2 separate regions of the Homo sapiens genome follow, and region 2 is linked to region 1. Evidence: promoter capture Hi-C in human tissues and cell types (Jung and others, 2019). All regions are on one chromosome and are shown on one strand. Each heading gives the region's core, a stretch centred on a gene start or on the middle of the fragment in contact. The rest is flanking DNA. Distances are from core to core; before and after follow the strand shown.

What was found. Contacts are between HindIII fragments. The study calls those that stand out against the background at their distance.
Region 2: a fragment that was not itself captured here is called in contact with the fragment with the promoter of SMG9 in region 1 in 1 of the 25 tissues and cell types used here (pancreas).

What each region holds. Positions count from the first base shown.
Region 1 is chr19:43,753,000-43,756,830 of GRCh38, forward strand. SMG9 (SMG9 nonsense mediated mRNA decay factor) reads right to left here and starts at 1,963. Exons shown (of 14, transcript NM_019108.4): 1 at 1,655-1,963. RefSeq lists an enhancer at 894-1,153 and a silencer at 1,384-1,743. The HindIII fragment of the contact is 11,288 bases long and covers 1-3,831 here.
Region 2 is chr19:45,454,075-45,458,071 of GRCh38, forward strand. No RefSeq gene overlaps it. Among named protein-coding and RNA genes, the nearest start is that of FOSB, 12 kb to the right of the region's middle. RefSeq lists enhancers at 407-466, 774-1,740, 1,503-1,752, 1,741-2,707. The HindIII fragment of the contact is 7,912 bases long and covers 1-3,997 here.

The DNA of each region.
Region 1 (3,831 bases), core at 713-3,212:
TGCCCCACCTCATAATGACATAAACAGGTCCCTCCGAGACTCTCCAGAATGGAAGGGTCTGTTTACAAGATGCAGTCATAATTTTGCTAGCCAGACAAGTGGCTTGTCTAGCTCCTCTCCTACTGTGCTACATGACCTCTCCCAGAGCCACAAGCCAGGCTGAAGACTGCTTTCCTAGACAGAGGAGGACAAGGGCCTGTTTACAGCTGCTTAGGGAAAATGACTCATTCCATACCGAAATGACTGCTTAGTCTGGGATGGAGATTCTCCCCAGAATCTGAGACTCCTCCCTCACTTGCAATTAAGTGTCTTTACACATTATTCTGAAATCTACCCAGTGCTTAAGTACTTGTCTTCATGCCTCAATTGGGATACTGCCCAGCCCTGAGGTTTCTGTTTACTGGCCTATGAGGATGCCCTTTCCTGTGCAAAGTAAGCGCCCCTGTGTGAATGCTTTTCTTTTTTTTTTTTTTTTTTTTTTGAGACGGTCTTGCTCTGTTGCCCAGGCTGGAGTGCAGTGGCACGATCTCAGCTGGCTGCGGCCTCTGCCTCCCGGGTTCAGGCAATTCTCCTGCCTCAGCCTCCCAAGTAGGTGGGATTACAGGTGCATACCACCAGGCCGGGCTAAGTTTTGCATTTTCAGTAGAGACGGGGTTTCGCCATGTTGGCCAGGCTGGTATCGAACTCCTGGCCTCAAGTGATTCGCCAGCCTCGGTCTCCCAAAGTGATCGGATTCCCCGGGTAAGCCACCGCACCTGGCCTCCCTGTGCCCTTTATTCTGGGAGCTTCCACAGTATCTGAATGTGGGGAGTTCCTTGGAACTTAAAAGCCCACCTAAACCAGGTGTGGAGGATACAGTGAGCCGAGATCGTGCCACTGCACTCCAGCCTGGGCGACAGAGCGAGACTCTTGTCTCAAAGAAAAAAAAAAAAAACCCCACCCACATGCAAGCTGGGGACTTCCAATGCTGTTTCCGGGCTCCTTTGGGGATTACCCCCAAACTTAGGAAAGCTGGTCTATTTAAGTGTCTGCTGATGGACTTCTAGGGTGACTTCCCGAAAATTAACAAATCGAATTTACATATTTTTGGGGAGTGTCTCCTCAGTATTTAGGCATCGCTTCACACACTCCCTTCGGGGATCTCCCAGAACCTCACTATTTGCAAATATTTGGGGAGACTCTCCCGATTCCTGAGTATGTAAGCCCACTTCGTGGGGCACTCCCCAGCCCAGAACTGTAGTCGATTTGCACATTTTCCTAAGGACTCCCTAGGATTTAAACTTCTCTCTACGGGGTTCTAGAAGGGAGCCTCCCCCGGATTTAGGCATTGCTTTACAAAGCTTCCCTCGGGGAACCCAACTCAAGTTTCTCGTTACACGTTATTGGGGCGGCCTCCCCAGTACTTGACGGGCAGTTTGCAGGCTGTACTTGGATCTCGCAGAGCATAAGTTTCTCATTTACACGTTATTTCCGTCCCCCGCCCCCATTCCTGCCAACCCAGTATCGAATTGACGGTCGCCGGCCCCCTACTCAGTGCCGCACCCCCGCCGGACGTCCCAGCGACCTTTCAATGGCCAAGGCGGGGGCGGGGCCTGCCGGAGCGCCCCGCCCGCCGCCGGTGCGCTAGCCTCGCGCGGGCTCGCGGCCCCCTTACCTAACGCGGCTGCTGATTGGTTCTCGGGGCGCGGTGTGCGCTCTCCCGTGACGGGAGTCGGGTGGGGGCGGGGAGGCTGACCCAAGCCACCCGCCTGCAAATGGCGTCTGGGGGCCAGGAACGTGGGAAGGAGAGAAAATGGGCACTCCCCACTCCGAAACCGGCCTCGGCGTCCGGGTTGCAGCCCCTAAGGAAAGCTGGGCCGAAGGAAGAAGAGGAGGAGGATGTAACGCGGGCCCGAGCTGAGATCAGTTCCCTCAGGCGACTCGTCCTGCGCATGCGCTGAGGGCTGGAGCTCGAGAACTGAATGCGCTCGCCGGGCTGAGCGTGCGTGGATGGAGGCGGTCGGCTTCAGCACGCATGCGGGTTCCGGAGCGGGAGGCGGGAGGACGCCGCGGCTCTGACTCAATGCGCGTGCGCGCGGTTGGGGGGTTGAGGGTGGGGAGATGAGTAGGGAAATGGATACGCCGAGGAGCCGGCAGGAGGGAGAGCGGCCCGGATCTGGGGTTCGAGTTGTGCCTCTTCGGTGATGTTGGCGGGATGCAGTGGGGTGGGACGACAGGGAGGAATTTCACTGTTCTGGGCTGAGTGCCAAGAACACATGAATGAATCAGACTTGGCGTGCGCCCTGGAAGACACCCCGGCCTGTGGAGAGACTGCCAGGGCCTCAAATCACTTAGGAAAGGGCGCGGGTCCGGTTGGACCTTGAAGGACAGGCAGGCGAGGGTACTCCAGGGAACAGCTAAGCAAAGGCGGCGAAGACCCCGGGGGAAGAGGTCTAGACTGGCTTGGATTCAGGGTCCACCTGGGTGGGAGGTGAGGCAGCAGAATGGGCAGGTCAGACCCTGAAGGGTCTCCAGTGTCAGTTTTATCCTTAAGGCCTGGGAGATGCAGAATAGTCTGAGACAGAACTATGTTTAAAACCCTCGAAGGCCGCGTTGGAGAAGGGAATCCGCTCCAGGGTCGAAAATTTAAACACACGTGGGCGGAGTCTTGCGCGCGCCAAAGAGGAACATTGGGCGACGGGCGCGGCCTGGAGAGCGCATGCGCATTCGGAAGGGTCGGCAGTTCCCCAGTGGGCAGAGTGGGTGGATGGGAAGGTTCTAGCTTTTTATTTGAAATTTTATTTATTTTTATTTTATTTATTTATTTAGAGACGGAGTCTCGCCCTGTCACCCAGGCTGGCGTGCAGTGGCGAGATCTCGGATCACTGCCGTCTCCACCTCCTGAAATTCAAGCGATTCTCCTGCCTCAGCCTCCCAAATAGCTGGGATTACAGGCGTCCACCACGCCTGGCTAATTTTTTGTATTTTTAGTAGAGACTGGGTTTTGCCATGTTGGCCAGGCTGGTCTCGAACTCCTGACCTCAAGTGATCCGCCCGCCTCGGCCTCCTAAAGTGCTAGGATGACAGGCGTGAGCCACCGTGGCTGGTCTAAAAAAAAGTTTTTTAAAATTATATTTGAACAGGTATTACATGTACATACACAATTCAAACCTCTCTGGCTGTATACAATAAAAGTAAGTTTCCACCTCTGGTTCCCATTTTCCTTTCCTAAAGCACTGGTTCCCGGTTTCCTTCTGGAGCTGCTGTTATAATAAAGCATTGGAGTTAAGAGCATGTGTTGAGTTCATATAAATAGCGGCTGAGCTTGACCAAGTGACTTAATACTCTCTACTTCTACGTCCCTGTTTGTGAATTGGGTGTGGTATAACCTTACTTACAACATTGCCGCCAGCATTAAATGGGTGAGAGTGCATAGAACAGTGCCTGTTGCCTAATGGTACTGTGTGTTGTCTCTGTGTATTATTTTGTGGTCTACCATGCTGATAGTTGTAGATTCTGAGCAGCCCTCTCCCCTCCAGGCCTCATCCCTACTGTCATTGTCCCAGTACCAGTACCAGGTGGAGCCACCTCTCCAGGCTGCCACAGGTAGAAACACCAGTCACCCAGAATGACTTGAGTCCACTGTTGATGGATTCTGGGGAAAGATTCTGGGTGTTTGATAAAGATACACATGACAGGCCATCTCTGTATTATGTCTATCAGTGTCCAATTTTACTTCTTCAGCTCAGGCCATATCTGAATTTCTCAACCCCAGATCACTCACGATTGCCAGTTTCACGTCAGGGCAACCCTCAGAGGTAGAATTTTCTTAAAAGAGGGAAAGAGGAGGCC
Region 2 (3,997 bases), core at 26-2,525, 1.7 Mb after region 1:
AATGGCTACAAGGCCCAGCCGTGGTCTGGTTTCAGGAAAGGTAAATGAAGGGTGAAGTTGGGACGGGATGGAATTGAGGTTCAAATCACTCCATGGGACTGGGAAAGTGGGAAGTGAAAGAGGGATGAAAGAGCGCATTTGAAGCAGGCAGACTGAGGGTCAGACTCCAGAAAGGACTTCCTCCTAGGACTATTTTGGGGCTGGGAACTATAAGAAATGAACTGTTTTGCTGGGCCTGGTGGCCTACACCTGTAATCCCAGCACTTTGGGAGGCCGAGGCAGGCAGATCGCAAGGTCAAGAGATCAAGATCATCCTGGTCAACCTGGTGAAACCCCATCTCTACTAAAAATACAAAAATTAGGTGGGCGTGGTGGCGCGTGCCTGTAGTCCCAGATACTCAGGAGGCAGAGGCAGGAGAATCACTTGAACTCGGGAGGCGGGGGTTGCAGTGAGCCGAAATTGCGCCACTGCACTCCAGCCTGGTGACAGAGCAAGACTCCCTCTCAAAAAAAAAAAAAGAAAGAAAAACATGAGCTGTTTGGAGAGCTGCCTGGAGGAAGAGAAACCAGCCTGAGTTTCACAGGCTAGTGGAATTTGGAGGGGGGCAATAATAGCAATAACAATAGGCCAGGCACGGTGGCTCACACCTGTAATCCCAGCACTTTGGGAGGCCGAGAAGGGTGGATCACCTGAGGTCTGGAGTTCGAGACCAGCCTGGCCAGCATGGCAAAACCCTGTCTTTACTAAAAATACAAAAAAAATTAACCAGGCTTGGTGGTGTGTGCCTGTAATTCCAGCTACTCGGGAGGTTGAGGCAGGAGAATAACTTGAACCCGGGAGGTGTGGGTTGCAGTGAACCGAGATCATGCCACTGCACTCCAGCCTGGGCGACAGAGTGAGACTTTGTGTCAAAAACAATAATAATAATAATAATAATGCACTAGGTGCAGATACTGATAAAGGCTTTGTGAGGAATTTTCTTTCTTTCTTTTTTCTTTTTTTTTTGAGACAGAGTCTCACTCTCTTTCCTGGCTGGAGTGCAGTGGCACGATCTCGGCTCACTGCAACCTCCGCCTCCCGGGTTCAAGCGATTCTCCTGCCTCAGGCTCCCAAGTGGCTGGGATAACAGGTGCCCACCACTACGCCCAGCTAATTTTTTTTTTTTTTTTAGATAGGGTCTGGCTCTGGCTCTGTCATACAGGCTGGAGCACAGTGGCATGATGACAACCCACTGCAGCCTTGACCTCCTGGGCTTAAGTGATCCTCTTGCCTCAGCCTCCTGAGTAGCTGGGGCTACAGGCTTATTTTTTTGTAGAGATGGGGTCTCACTCTGTTGCCCAGGCTGGTCTCAAACTTCTGGGCTCAAGCAATCCTCCTGCCTTGGCTTCCCAAAGTGCTGGGTTTACAGGAGTGAGCCACCATGTCTGGCCATTTGAGGAAATTTTTATTTTTGTCTGTCTTGTTTCCTGCTCTGTCCCCAGCACCTAGAGTGTGTGACTGCAGTGTGTGTGTGTGTGTGTGTGTGTGTGTGTGTGTGTGTGTAGGTGTGCTGATTAAATATTTGAATGGCTGATTGAATGAACGAATGAATGTCATCCTACAACCACTTGTGAGTCCTGGTCTTAGGGGAAGGCTGGGCTGGGGCCCTGGCCTCTGGGATCCCTCTTGTGCCAGTCCCCCAGCCCTGCTGTTCCCACAGCTCTGTGCTGAAGAGGGCGTGGAGGGGGCCAGGGAAGGGAGTGTCAGGCAGCCAGCCGGCTGCCTGCCCTGGACAGCAGCCCAGAGTGTCTGCAGGAGGGAGAGGGTAGTTCAGGAGCCTGAGTCACCCTGGGAGAAACCCCAGCCACATACCTGGCCGCTGACATCACCCGGCCAGGGCACCCCCGGCAGCCTAGACAAGCTGACTGAATCACAGGCGGAATTCAGCCACCCCGGGCACGTGGCCTGCTGTGACCCCCCGCAACACCCCCGAGTGGCCGTCTGGCTGCGGGGGTTGGGCCGGGCACACAGGGGTCAGTGAGGGGGCATGGGGCCTGAGTCAGGGACAGGGTGGCTACAGCCAGAGACCACCCAGCCACAGGCGTCCATGTGGGGCAGGAAGGAGAAAGTTTGGGAAGGAGAGCCTGTGGGGAGGCCCTGGCGGGTGAGGAGGAAGCACGTGTGGGTGTGACGGGGAGGCTGCGGCTTGTGGGCAGCGGCTGGGCGACCCACAGGGGTGGGATGGGGTCTGAGTGTTTGCGCAGAGAATCACCAAATCGTAAGAGACTTGGTCGTAAGAGTCAGTCAGGAGGACAATGGAATCACCAATGTGCTTACACACGCAAAGGCACACACGCACACTCAACACCCGGCCTGGGGAGGCCCTGACTCCACCCACCCCAGGCCAGCGGGGCCTCACTACCCATAAGCCTGCAAGTTCCCTAAGGGACTGAGGCCTAAGGGACAGTTTCCTCATCTGTTGAGTGGGGGTATTAACAAGCATTATTAGGCCAGGCACAGTGACTCGTGAGGCAGAGGTAGGCGGATCCCTTGGAGGCCAGAAGTTCAAGACCAGCCTGGACATCATAGCAAGACCCCTTCTCTACAAAGAAAAAATTTAAAAATTAGCTGGATGTGGTGGTGTGCACCTGTAGTCCCAGGTACTCAGGAGGCTGTGGAGGGTGGATTGCTGGAGTGTTGGAGTTTGAGACTGCAGTGAGCTATTGATTGCACCACTGTACTCCAGCCTAGACAACAGAACAAGATCCTATAGCAAAAAAAAAAAAAAAAAAAAATCACTATTATTGTAATAGCTATGCTTACGGGGAACATACTTTCTGCCAGGTGCTGTTCTAGGCATTCTACATTTTTTTTTTTTAAATAATGGAGATGACGTCTCACTATGTTTCCCAGGCTGGTCTTGAACTCCTGAGCTCAGGCTATCCTCTCGCTTTTTTGGTGGCTGGCACGCCTGTAATCCCGACATTTTGGGAGGCCAAGGTGGGTGGATCGCCGGAGCCCAAGAGTTCGAGACCAGCCTGGGAAACATAGTGAGATGCCATCTCTACCAAAAAATCAAAAAATTAGCTAAGCATGGTGGCTCATGCCTGTAGTCCCAGCTACTCAGGATGCTGAGGTGGGAGGATCACTTGAACCTGGGAGATGGAAGTTGCAGTAAGCTGAGATTGTGCCACTGCACTCCAGCCTGGGTGACAGAATAAGACCTTGTCTCAAAAAAAAAAAAAAAAAAAAAAAAAGAAGAAGAAAAAAGAGAGTCAACTGCATCTGTATTTGTGGCACTTGGTACATACACGGTAAGCTTTCTCAAGTGACTCTGTTATGATTCTTAGTACTAAACATATTATTTTCCCTTTTTTTGTTTCTTTCTTTCTTTTTTTTTTTTTTTTCGGTGATGGAGTCTCACTCTGTTGCCCAGGCTGGAGTGCAGTGGTGCAATCTCGGCCCACTGCAACCTCCGCCTCCCAGGTTCAAGCGATTCTCCTGTCTCAGCCTCCCAAGTAGTAGGGATTACAGGACCCTACCACCATGCCCAGCTAATTTTTGTATTTTTAGAAGAGACGGGGTTTCACCATGTTGGTCAGGCTGGTCTCGAACTCCAGACCTTAGGTGATCCACCCACCTTGGCCTCCCACAGTGTTGGGATTACAGGCGTGAGCCACCGTGCCTGGCCAAATACACATTATTTTTATCCCTAAGTCCAACTAGGAAGGCCTCCAAAACAGTCACCCTCACTGCCTTGGTCCAGTTCTACTTCTTACCTCCCTGCAGTCCTTCCTGCTGCCTCTTCTTTGGTTATATATGTCTGTAGTAGGGAGAGAGTGCTTCAGGGACTCCCTCCTCATTCATAACTCTTCAGAACTCAATCATGATTATCTAGATCCACCTCCACCAGGAAGTCCTCCTGGCTTACTCCAGCCTCACTAAGCACTCTCACCACCCAATGCCTGGAGTGGTTGTAGTCAGTGAGTGACACATTGCACAGTGTGTGCCCCCTGG